Linked DNA regions of Homo sapiens: region 1 is linked to region 2. Evidence: promoter capture Hi-C in 16 types of primary human blood cells and fetal thymus (Javierre and others, 2016). All regions are on one chromosome and are shown on one strand. The core of a region is centred on a gene start or on the middle of the fragment in contact, and the rest is flanking DNA. Distances in the headings are between cores, read along the strand shown. Region 1 overlaps LPXN (leupaxin). Region 2 holds the start of SLC43A3 (solute carrier family 43 member 3).

Region 1 (6,306 bases), core at 3,702-6,201, 1.1 Mb before region 2:
GTTAATCTTGTTATGTGTGAATTTGATCTGGTAATTATGATGCTAGCTGGTTATTTTGAAGAACTGTTATGAACAGTTTCTTCATAGCATCTATGGTCTTTACAATTTGGTATGTTTTTGCAGTGACTGGTACCAGTTATTCCTTTCTGTGTTTAGTGCTTCCTTCAGGAGCTCTTGTAAGGCAGGCCTGGTGGTAGTAAAGTCTCTCAGCATTTGCTTGTCTGTAAATAATTTTATTTCTCTTTTGTTTACGAAGCTTAGTTTGGCTGGATATGAAATTCTGGGTTGAAAATGCTTTTAAGAATGTTGAATATTGGCCCCCACTCTCTTCTGGCTTGTACAGTTTCTGCCAAGAGATCCGCTGTTAGTCTGATGGGCTTCCCTTTGTGGGTTACCCAACCTTTCTCTTTGGCTGCACTTAACATTTTTTCCTTCATTTTGTGTCCGAAATTGGTGGGTTCTTGGTCTCACTGACTTCAAGAATGAAGCCGCGGACCCTTGCGGTGAGTGTTACAGTTCTTAAAGATGGTGTGTCCGGAGTTTGTTCCTTCTGATGTTCAGACATGTTCGGAGTTTCTTCTTTCTGATGGGTTTGTGGTTTCGCTGGCTTCAGGAGTGAAGCTGCAGACCTTCACGGTGAGTGTTACAGCTCTTAAGGCGGTGCGTCTGGAGTTGCTCATTCCTCCCATCTGGAGTTGTTCATTCCTCCTGGTGGATTCGTGGTCTCGCTGGCCTCAGGAGTGAAGCTGCAGACCTTCGCGGTGAGTGTTACAGCTCATAAAGGCAGTGCGGACCCAAAGAGTGAGCAGCAGCAAGATTTATTGCAAAGAGTGAAAGAACAAAACTTCTACAGTGTGGAAGGGGACCCAAGTGGGTTGCCACTGCTGGCTCGGGCAGCCTGCTTTTATTCCCTTATCTGGCCCCACCCACATCTTGCTAATTGGTGCATTTTACAGAGAGCTGATTGGTCCATTTTACAGAGAGCTGTTTGGTCTGTCTTGACAGGGTGCTGACTGGTGCATTTACAATCCCTGAGCTAGACACAGAGTGCTGATTGGTGCATTTACAATCCTCTAGCTAGACACAAAAGTTCTCCAAGTCCCCACTAGATTAGCTAGACACAGAGCACTGATTGGTGCATTTACAAACCTTTAGCTAGACACAGAGTGCTGATGGGTGCATTTACAATCCCTGAGCCAGACACAGAGTGCTGATTGGTGCATTTACAATCCTCTAGCTAGACATAAAAGTTATCCAAGTCCCCACCTGACTCAGGAGCCCAGCTGGCTTCGCCTAGTGGATCCCATGCCAGGGCTGCGGGCGGAGCTGCCCTCCAGTCTCGTGCCGTGCGCCCACACTCCTCAGCCCTTGGGCGGTCGATGGGACTGGGCGCCTCGGAGCAGGGGGCAGCACCTGTCGGGGAGGCTTGGGCTGCATGGGAGCCCACTGTGGGGGTCTCGGGCATGGCGGGCTGCAGATCCCAAGCCCTGCGCCACAGGGAGGCAGCTGAGGCCTGGCAAGAATTCGAGCATGACACAGGTGGGCCAGCAGTGCTAGGGGACCCAGTGCACCCTCCGCAGCTGCTGTCTCAGTTGCTAATCCTCTCACTGCCTGGGGCTGGCGGTGCTGGCCGGCCACTCTGAGTGCGGGGCCTGCTGATCCCGTGCTACCCGAAACTCGTGCTGGCCCACGAGCACCGCATGCAGCCCCAGTTCCTGCCCGTGCCTCTCCGTCCACACCTCCCCGCAGGCAGAGGGAGCTGGCTCCAGCCTCAGCCAGCCCAGAGTGGGGCTCCCACAGTGCAGCGGCAGGCTGAAGGGCTCCTCAAGCGTGGCCAGAGTGGATGCCGAGGCCAAGGACGTGCCAAGAGCGAGCAAGGGTTGCAAGCACATTGTCACCTCAATTTCAACCTTGGTGAATCTGATGATTATGTGTCTTGGGGTTGCTCTTCTTGAGGAGTATCTTTGTGGTGTTCTCTGTATTTCCTGAATTTGAATGTTGGCCTGTCTTGCTAGGTTGAGGAAGTTCTCCTGGATAATATCCTGAAGAGTGTTTTTCAGCTTGGTTCCATTCTCCCCATAACTTTCAGGTACACCAGTCAAACGTAGATTTGTTTTTTTCACATAGTCCCATATTTCTTGGAGGCTTTATTCATTCCTTTTCATTCTTTTTTCTCTAATCTTGTCCTCTTGCTTTATTTCATTAAGTTGACCTTCAATCTCTTATATCCTTTCTTCTGCTTGATCAATTCAGCTATTGATACTTGTGTATGCTTCACAAAGTTCTTGTGCTATATTTTTCAGCTCCATCAGGTCATGTATGTTCTTCTCTAAACTGGTTATTCTAGTTAGCAATTTGTCTAACCTGTTTTCAAGGTTCTTAGCTTCCTTGCATTGGGTTAGAACATGCTCCTTTATAAAGCTCGGAGGAGTTTGTTATTACCCACCTTCTGAAGCCTACTTCTATCAGTTCGTCAGACTCATTCTTCATCCAGTTTTGTTCCCTTGGTGTTGAGGAGTTGTGATCCTTTGGAGAAGAGGCATTCTGGTTTTTGGGATTTTCACCCTTTTTGCATTGGTTTCTCCCCATCTTCTTGAGTGTTTCTACGTTTGGTCTTTGAAGTTGGTGACCTTCAGATGGAGTGTCTGAGTGGATGTCCTTTCTGTTGATGTTGATGCTATTCCTTTCTGTTTGTTAGTTTTCCTTCTAACAGTCAGGCTCCTCTGCTACAAGTCCACGGGAGTTTGCTGGAGGTCGACTCCAGACCCTGTTTGCCTGGGTATTAGCAGCAGAGGCTGCAGAACAGCAAAGATTGCTGCCTGTTCCTTCCTTTGGAAGCTTCATCCCAGCAGGGCACCCACCAGATGCCAGCCAGAGCTCTCCTGTATGAGGTGTCAGTTAGCCCCTATTGGGAGGTGTCTCCCAATCAGGAGACACGGGGGCCACAGACCCACTCAAGGAGGCAGTCTGACCCTTAGCAGAGCTCGAACCCTGTGCTGGGAGATCCACTGCTCTCTTCAGAGCTGTCAGGCAGGGATGTTTAAGTCTACTGAAGCTGTGCCCACAGCCACCCCTTCCCCTGGGTGCTCTGTCCCAGGGAGATGGGGGTTTTATCTATAAGCCCCTGACTGGAGCTGCTGCCTTTTTCTTTTCAGAGATGGCCTGCCCAGAAAAGAGGAATCTAGAGAGGCAGTCTAGCCACAGCAGCCTTGCTGAGCTGCGGTTGGCTCCACCCAGTTTGATCTTCTGAGTGGCTTTGTTTACACTGTGAAGGTAAAACCACCTGCTCAAGCCTCAGCAATGGTGGATGCTTCTCCCTCCACCAAATTCTAGTATCCCAGGTCGAGCTCAGACTGCTGTGCTGGCAGTAAGAATTTCAAGCCAGTGGATCTTAGCTTGCTGGGCTCCATGGGGGTGGGACCTACCGAGCCAGGCCACTTGGCTCCCTGGCTTAAGCCCCCTTTCCAGGGGAGTGAACAGTTCTGTCTCGCTGGCATTCCAGGTGCATCTAGGTTATGAAAAACAAAAAACAAAAAAACTTCTAAAGCTAGCTCAGTGTTTGCCCATACAGCCGCCCAGTTTTGTGCTTGAAACCCAGGGCCCTGGTGGCGTAGGCACAAGAGGGAATCTCCAGGTCTGCGGTTTGTGAAGACTATGGGAAAAGCACAGTATCTGGGCCGGAGTGCACTGTTCCTCACGGCACAGTTTCTAATGGCTTCTCTTTGTTAGGAGAGGGAGTTCCCTGACCCCTTGTGCTTTCTGGGTGAGGCAACACCCCACCCTTTTTCGGCTTGCCCTCAATGGGCTGCACCCACTGTCCGATCAGTCTCAATGAGATGAACCGGTTACCTCAGTTGGAAATGCAGAAATCACCTGCCTTCTGCATCGATCTCACTGGAAGCTGCAGACCTGAGCTGTTCCTATTCGGTCATCCTGCCAGCAATCTCCAAATTATTTATTTTATTGCTCATGTCATCAGTTTGATATACAGTTAATTTTCTTCAATTTGATTCAATTTTTTAGGGATTCATGTTTTTCCATTTTAATTTTTTTACTTTTTTTTTTTTTTTTTGAGACAGAGTCTCACTATCTCCCAGGCTGGAGTGCAGTGGTGCGATCTCGGCTCACTGCAAGCTCTGCCTCCCGGGTTTACGCCATTCTCCTGCCTCAGCCTCCCAAGTAGCTGGGACTACAGGCGCTCGCCACCACACCTGGCTAATTTTTTGTATTTTTAGTAGAGACGGGGTTTCACCGTGTTAGCCAGGATGGTCTCGATCTCCTGACCTCGTGATCCACCCGCCTCGGCCTCCCAAAGTGCTGGGATTACAGGTGCAAGCCACCGTGCCCGGCCAATTTTTTCACTTTTTAATTATGTACAACAATAGTTGAAACCATACATATACTCAGGAGTGGAATATAATTAGCAAATATTTTCTTCAGATTGTTATTTGTCTTTGTTTATGGTGATTTTTTGACATGTGTAAGTCATTCAGATATATTTTTATGTAGCTAAATTTATTAATATTTAACTTGCTTTTGGAATTTGGGCTTTATTTATGACAGTTTTTCTGTTTCCAGATTAAAGAGGAATACATCATTAATGACAAGATATGAAATGCAAATGCACACATTAAAAAAACCCTAAGTATCATTAGCCTTTCGGGAAATACAAATCAAAACTACCATGAGATAACATTGTATAGATAGATAACATCCATTTGATTGATTAAAAAGGAAATATATGGATATATCAAGTGATGTAAAGACTGAGGAATAATTGGGATTTTCATACACTGCTGGTAAACAATAAAAATAATATACCCACACAAAAAATAAAAAAAGGAGGAATACATCTATTTTTAATTCAAATATATGGTATGAGTCATTGTGTTTAGATCTTGCATCCATCTGGAAATTATTATTTAGTAGTATTTTATTTTAAAATATCAGATGCTTTTTTTCTTCCCAGATGCTGTTTTAGATATTAGAGATATAATGGTGACAAGATCAACAATATCTAGTTTCTCTCAGAGCTAATGTTCCTGTAAGGGGAGACAGCCCACAAAGATGATTTTAAATAAAGGTAAATGCCATAAAGACGGTGAAAGAAGATGATGTGACAAGGAGGGACTGAAGAGATGCCTCTCTGATAAGATGATATTTGAGTGATTCTTGCATCACATGAAGAGGACAACTATATCAGGCTCTGGGACAGAACTATCCAAGCCAAGGGAATACTTAGTACAAAGGCACTGAGGAGCAATAGCCCCTAACACTTATTAAATGTTTACTATGAACCAGACACAATGCCAAAACACTTCCTCTGCATTATCTCATTTATTTCTTACAACTACCCTTTGAATTAGGTAACAGTAATCATCCTATTTTGAATATGAGGACACTGAGATTGAAAGGGCCTCCTCTCAGTCTCCAGTGTAGCTTTCAGGGCTCAACCTGCAACAGTGAATTCCTGATTTTATCTCTCCAGGCTTTCATGAGAAGGACAAGAAGCCATATTGCCGAAAGGATTTCTTAGCCATGTTCTCACCCAAGTGTGGTGGCTGCAATCGCCCAGTGTTGGAAAACTACCTTTCAGCCATGGACACTGTCTGGCACCCAGAGTGCTTTGTTTGTGGGGTCTGTATAATCACTTTTCTTTCGGACTTAGGGAAAGTCAAGGGTTCTCCTCTCTGAGAGGAAGAGCTGCAGTTAGTGAAAGGGTTCACAGTCCTGAATGAGGAATGGATGTGCGCATCCTAAAGGAGAAACGAGATACAGATCCATTTGCTTGTCTGTTTTGCAAGCGGGAAATCTAGTCTCCATTTGTCAAGAACCTGAGGGAAATTCCTGTAGCTGGCAGGTAACTGTCAGGAATTTCAAGGCTGAAAATTTTACTTTGCTGACATTTTACCTCTTGACATTTGCATTCTTTTTCTCTCTCTTCTCTCTACCCCAGGACTGCTTCACCAGTTTTTCTACTGGCTCCTTCTTTGAACTGGATGGACGTCCATTCTGTGAGCTCCATTACCATCACCGCCGGGGAACGCTCTGCCATGGGTGTGGGCAGCCCATCACTGGCCGTTGTATCAGTGCCATGGGGTACAAGTTCCATCCTGAGCACTTTGTGTGTGCTTTCTGCCTGACACAGTTGTCGAAGGGCATTTTCAGGGAGCAGAATGACAAGACCTATTGTCAACCTTGCTTCAATAAGCTCTTCCCACTGTAATGCCAACTGATCCATAGCCTCTTCAGATTCCTTATAAAATTTAAACCAAGAGAGGAGAGGAAAGGGTAAATTTTCTGTTA
Region 2 (6,475 bases), core at 3,031-5,530:
GTTGACACAGTGTTCCCCAGCCTAGTCCTTAGAGTTGCAGGTTTAGATATTGTCAGTGCACTGAGGCATTCCTTTCTAGCAAAGTCTATCGGGAAGTGCAGTTACCAGTAAACAGTTGCTTGATGAACATAGAAGTGGAGCTGGGGCTTGGGAGGGTGGGTAGCAGTAGCCTCATAAGCCCTGGTGTGGTGGGGCTTGGGGCTCTGCTTTCTCTTAGGCCTGGCCCAGTGCTTCCAGTATCTGGTCTGGTGGGGGAGCTCTGTTTTCTGCATGGTGAAAGGGAGGCTGATCCAGGCTGATCCTCTGCTGCCTCTAGCATCCACTGAAGCTGAGCTGGCTGCTCTGAGGGGCCAGAGTGGCCCCCACCCTCCAGTGCCTCTTTGGGTATCCTTTCAGATTCACCTCTGTTAAAGAGAAAGGTCTCCCCAGAGCAAGGAGGCCTCATATTTACTTGGCTATGTAGTAGTTCCCCACCCTCCTGAGAACTGCTTTGAACACACTAGGAGATACCCTGAAGAGCCAGCTCTAAGACTCCATCCCCTTCCTGTCTACTGTGGCTCATGAACAGACTTCCCACAGCTTACAGGACAATCCAAGCCCCTGCCTTAAGCCCAGACAGTCTTGGGGGGTTGTACTGAGTGCATTTGGGTGTCATCTAGAGATCAGTTCTCTAGGGTGGGACTTCTTAAGCAAGGTAAACTGAGCTCACCCATTACTTAGTGGTTTTCCCCCTAATTTATTTCTTTTTTAGGTTAGGAACACTTTGAAATTCTCCCTAAATGTGACTTTATTTCCTCTTTGTTTTCCAGTAAGTCAATAATATTTGTTAACAACAGTAGCTGCTATTTATTAATAGTGTACTAATTGGGCAGTTTTCATACATTATCTTTAATCCATACAGCTCGATTCCAATTTTATAGATGAGGAGACGGAAGCTCAGAGATACCAGTAATTGGCTCGATAGCAGTGTGCTTGTATTATTTTTGGCACTGCCTCAAGAGGATTAGAATTTTCTCTGCAGGTGAAATGATGTTTGCATTTACCTTTTGCTTTCTGACTTCCAAAACAGGCTGTAGAAACCCCTTTCAAGACCGTAGGTGGAAAACCAAACATTTTAATTTACATGAGCCCATTGTGAAAGGAAAGCTTATGTTTGTTTGTTTATGTGTTTGGCGTATCCGAAATCAAAGCCCTTTATGTGAATGGCTCAGAGTTTATCTACATATACAAATTTAGAAAGTGATGTCAGAGGGTAGGAGAGAATATCTGGACTCTGCCCAGAGAGTGGCAATTGCCCTCGCTGAGGTTGTTCAGAGGAAGTTTGAGGAGAGAGGTCTGTGGACAGGCAGGGACTGCATTGGAAGGTGGTGCTCTTGAGGACTAGAGGATACTAGCCATTGTTTGTGCCAGGGGAATGATGGAGTGCAGCTCACTTATACTGCCCTCTTTGGCAAACCCTCTTTCCCTAACCTAAACATATCCATCTTCCCACTCTGTCCATAAAAACATCCATAGGGTGGATCCTGGATATCCAGACTTGCTGATGATGGGAAGGAAAACCACCTCCAGCATTGGTACTTGGGCAGTAGGATGCAGGAGATCCAGTTCTATGCTCCCTCTTCCCCTCAAAGCAATGTCTCATGGCTGGCATCCCCAGACCCTGGACTGGTCCTTACCAGCCAGTTGACTGGACCTCAGAAGGGTTTTGAGCAGTTAAGTGAAGCCATCCAGTGGGAACCATGGAAATAAACTCTTGCAGGAGAATGGCGATGGCTTGGAAGCAGATGATGCCTCTGTGAGAGATGATGAGTGTCTGCATAGAGCAGTGGCCACGGATAGATAGGAGAGATATTAAGGGGTGAAATCAATAGGACATGATTGATTGATGTGGGCTGAATTCTTAATGCCCTCACTTAGATGGCGACGCTGGCCTCAAATCTTTCCACTTTCTTCACCACCCTGTGCTCTAGCTGGTTCCTAAATGTTATTGTTTTGTTGAGGTTCCGTGCCTTTCAATGTGCTGTGCTAGCATCTGCCTGGAAGACCATTCCCACACTCCAGAAATCTTGGGTTTCTTTGTCTGTCTCTCCCACAAGAGAATGAGCCCCTTGAGAGCAGGCACTGAATCTCTTCTCTACGAATCCCGGCACTTGGCACAGAGCCTGAGGTACCACATGTATTTGTTGAACCAATCAGTCAATTAAAAAAAAAAAGGTGTGAGATGATGAGGAAGGAGGCGAAGAGAAAAGGATGAAGACATCGGGTGCACCGTCAGACCTTATTATAATCACTTCTCTCTCTGATGTTACTCATTAATCCTCATTGGAGCCACGCAGGAGAGTGATCAGAATAGCATCTGCCTTTTCTAGCTGCTGGAATTCGAACCAAAGAACATGGGAATGGTTCAGAGGATATTCTAATTTCCTGTCCCATCAGTTCAGTAAGACTTGTGTTAGTGGAGGCCACGTCTTCTGCAGACATTGATGGGAGATGTGGAGTGGAGGCTCTAAGAGTCAAGAGAGGTAACAAGATAAGGTGGACAGAACCCTGGACGACCTGCCCCGTGTCCCGTGCTTCAGTCCTGGATGTACAGATAGCCCATGAGCTAGATCTTTCTGGCAGGCTCCTGCAGATTAACATTCTAAAATCTGTCTCTTTACTTTGACTTTTTTCTGTTTCTCCCTTGCTACTTCCACACTTACTGATCCCCCCAGGAGACTAAAATGTATGCCAGAGCAGAAGATAGGGCATGCATTAATTTCAGAGTCTTTGTGTCTTGCAGTAAAATAGAAAATCTTGCATCTTAAGCCCTGTTTGTCCTGGGATGCTATATTTTTGTGGATTTTCTCCCATAAATAATGTTATTTTAAGAAAAGACTTGTTTTCTCTAATGTCCAAATGTTTGTTAAGACGGGGTGATGAGAGCATACGTTTCAGAGTTGGGAAGGTACTGCAGCTTTGTAGAATGACCGTGGGCAAGTTCCTTTGAAATTCCTCCCCAGAGCTGCTTCTCTGGCTCTGTCTACATAACTGCAGACTAGAAAATCTACTACCCTACAATCTGCCTATAGCACCTGCGCCATGCAGGGACCTCATACACCCATCTTATACTTCTTTTATGACAATTCCTATAATTAAGGTACTATTGTCCTCGTCTTACAGGTGGGGCAGCCAAAGAGCTTGCCTCAGGTTGTATAACTAGTGAGTAGCTTGGGGTACAGGACCCCAGCCACCCTTCCTCCATTCAGTCAAGTCACTAGGGTGGTTGCAGACTTTTATCTTTTGTGCTTTGGTGGTGAGCTGGAAAATCCTCAGTTCTGGCTGTCCCCTATCGTAACCTCTATTTCTTCCTCTTAAAAAAAAGAGGAGTGGGCTTGGAATAGCTGGAGTTCCTGGGCCCTCAGGGGATCCAGGTAGCTGGGGTTGGGAGTCTGCAGACTGCATCTAATACGCAAGAAGCTCTCCCCAAACTGAGCTTTTGGCAAGGAAACGGCCACACAGGCCAAAGAAGACGTCAGCTCACGTGCTCTGGGCTGGAAGGATAGTAAGGCAGCTGCTTAGTAAGGCCTCACGCTGATCACAAGCTCCGATGAGCAATTATATATGTCTTTGATTAATAAAAAATGGGGCAATGAATGGTTAATCAATGCAGTCTGGCGGGAAGGCTCTTTCAGAACCTGGGGGGCGGGGGTGAGGCAGGGAGTCATCTAAGGGGTTTTTGGGAGTGAAAATATGGGGCAGTCCTCCAGGGGATGGTTTCTGAAAAGCCCTCAGTCCTGGTTCTTGGCTTCCTGATTCTGTGGTTGGGATTTTTTTGGCAGCTCTGGGAGTGTGAAACTGGGAGAGACGGTTAAGCTGGTGAGCAAATAGGAAAAATATGTTCCCTGCCAACCCAGCGGTCAAGGCAAAATGCACAAATAGAGTGTGTGTGTCCCTATGCCCTCATGTGCTGTCTGTGTGTCCTCTGGGTGCTGGGTGTGACATTTTCCCTAGGTGGGCCTGAGCGAGTAACAGCATTCAACTAACTTGGTTAGGGGAGGCAGAGGCAAGGGGGCTGGGAGGCTGAAAGGCAGCGAGGAGGGAGGGAAAGACACCGCTGGGGTTCTAGGGGGTTCTAGAGGGAGAAGTTTCAAGAGGGAGAGGTAAAAAGGGCGCGGGAGGCTGTGAGCAAGGGAAAAGAAGAAGGAAGTGATGGAGAGTGGGAGGTCTGCCCCAGCCCCTTCCGGGCGGGCAGGAGGGGGCGGAGGCGAGCAGGGGACTGGGAGGGGCTGCGAGAGGCGCGAATGCGAACCTGGCCCGTGCGGAAAGGGCGCGGAGAGCCCCGGCGCGGAGCAGGCGGGTAGGGCGAAGGGTCCCCTTTCGGGCGCCATGGGGCGCCGAGCGCGGCCTGGCCCCTCGGGCTCCTCTGCGGGGAGGGCAGGCCGCAGGCTGGAGCGGGGTGCGGAGGCTGGCGGGGAGCGGCCCCCGGAGGCTTTCCTGGTAGAAGTTGATGCGAGGAAGGGCGGCGGGGACCAGGTTTGCGAGTCCTAGGCGAGGGTCATGGGAGTTGGGGGTATTTCTGGCAGTAGAATGGCCTGCGTCGTGACTAAACTAGCCCTGTGACCTTGGGCAAGTTCCTGAAATCCATGGGAGCTTTTGTTTCATTGTCAGTAAACTGAAGATAACACCAACTTGGCAGCGGGAGTTTGTGTCTTCTGTATGAAATCTCCCTGCCTCTGCACCTGGTTGAGTTGCTGTCATTATTTTAGGGGACGGTATTCAGAATTCGAGCGCAGGAGCTCCGCTTCTCCACCTGCTCCCGGGGAGCTATTGGGTAAGTCGTTTATCTCACCTGTGACTCCAGGTGGCCATCAAGACCTGCCTCTCTACTTGCCACGTGGTTACTCAAATGCAGTGCCTAAGATGATGTATTGGAGTATTTATTCCCCACATTTGCTGCCAGCGGCCATGATCATCCTGCCTCTTAATGCACCTCACAAATAACTCTAGTCTACCTTTCCCTTTCCCGCAGGCCTCCTCTTCCAGCAGCCTCTATCTTTATTCTACAGGATCCAGAGAATCACCCGCTGATGGTTTTTGCCCAGGCCTGAAACAACCAGAGAGCTACGGGAAAGGAAGGGCTTGGCTTGCCAGAGGAATTTTCCAAGTGCTCAAACGCCAGGCTTACGGCGCCTGTGATCCGTCCAGGAGGACAAAGTGGGATTTGAAGATCCACTCCACTTCTGCTCATGGCGGGCCAGGGCCTGCCCCTGCACGTGGCCACACTGCTGACTGGGCTGCTGGAATGCCTGGGCTTTGCTGGCGTCCTCTTTGGCTGGCCTTCACTAGTGTTTGTCTTCAAGAATGAAGATTACTTTAAGGATCTGTGTGGACCAGATGCTGGGCCGATTGGCAATGCCACAGGGCAGGCTGGTAAGGGCAGGGATGACTTTTCTAAGGAAGTTAAGTCTGGCTCCCACGTGGTGGCAAGGAGCAGGAAGGACTCTGCCCCCTGCCCACCCCTCTTTCTATGATGAGAGGAAGGGTCAGCAGCTCTCACCCCACTTGATCTGGGAAGTGCCTGGGAGGGAGGCACCAGCTCCTGAGGGGTAATTAGGGGCAGCCACATTTCAACTCAGCTTAAGGGACAAGTTTGCGACCGACAAGCTGTCTGAGGTGGAGGGGAGCCCAGCCTGTGTGCTCATTTGGCAGGAAGGCTGGGATGCATGGGAGACCTTTTTTCTACTCCAGACTGCAAAGCCCAGGATGAGAGGTTCTCACTCATCTTCACCCTGGGGTCCTTCATGAACAACTTCATGACATTCCCCACTGGCTACATCTTTGACCGGTTCAAGACCACCGTGGCACGCCTCATAGCCATGTAAGTCCCAAAGGCCAGCCCAGGCAAAGGTGGGTAAGAGGAATCCTTCAGGCAGCAGCCTAGCTTGGAGTGAAATCCAGAGTCAGACAGCCCGGCCACCCTGCCAGGCACCACACCTGCAGCTCGCTCCCAGCAGCTGTTAGGAACAGCCCCAGGCAGCGGGACTCTCTCTAGACTTGCCCACTTCACCACAGCCCCACTTCCATTTCCTTACCTCGTTCCCTGCTCTGCATAAATGTGGCTTCCCTATCACGTGCTGAATTGAGCCGGAGGCCAGGGTGACTTCCTGTAAGGGCTGGCTTGGAGCCAGGGTTACAAAATTAGCAAAACCTAAAATTGCTCTTCTCTTCCTTCACCCCAAGGATCCTTGTCCTCATCCCCTGCACAGCCTCACATCCAGGTTGCCCAGGCTTCATCCTCATCCTCCTCACCGCCCCCCCTCCCCGCCCCAACAGCCAATCACTCCCTAGGGGCTTAGCTAATAGGAAGTTTCTTTGGTATTGCCACTGGTGGAATTTCAGGTCCCTTCTGACTGGAGGGGAGACTGGGGGGGTTTCCTGTGCAGATGAGTCAGAAGGTTCGGGACGTGATCTCACACACAGTGTGTTGCTGCAT

Evidence for each region. Contacts are between HindIII fragments. The CHiCAGO score rates a contact against its expected background, and 5 or more counts as called.
Region 1: a fragment that was not itself captured here is called in contact with the fragment with the promoter of SLC43A3 in region 2 in 3 of 17 cell types (activated CD4 T cells, total CD8 T cells and naive CD8 T cells); the score reaches 7.4 in activated CD4 T cells.

The regions. Positions count from the first base shown.
Region 1 is chr11:58,527,374-58,533,679 of GRCh38, reverse strand. It overlaps LPXN (leupaxin), which reads left to right. Exons shown (of 9, transcript NM_004811.3): 8 at 5,489-5,637; 9 at 5,957-6,306. The coding sequence ends at 6,226. Among named protein-coding and RNA genes, the nearest start is that of OR5B21, 22 kb to the right of the region's middle. The HindIII fragment of the contact is 4,221 bases long and covers 2,841-6,306 here.
Region 2 is chr11:57,424,926-57,431,400 of GRCh38, reverse strand. SLC43A3 (solute carrier family 43 member 3) reads left to right here and starts at 4,280. Exons shown (of 14, transcript NM_199329.3): 1 at 4,280-4,339; 2 at 4,749-4,813; 3 at 5,049-5,412; 4 at 5,731-5,860. The coding sequence starts at 5,229. RefSeq lists a silencer at 4,161-4,520 and enhancers at 4,763-5,555, 4,664-5,863, 5,556-6,348. The HindIII fragment of the contact is 9,438 bases long and covers 1,149-6,475 here.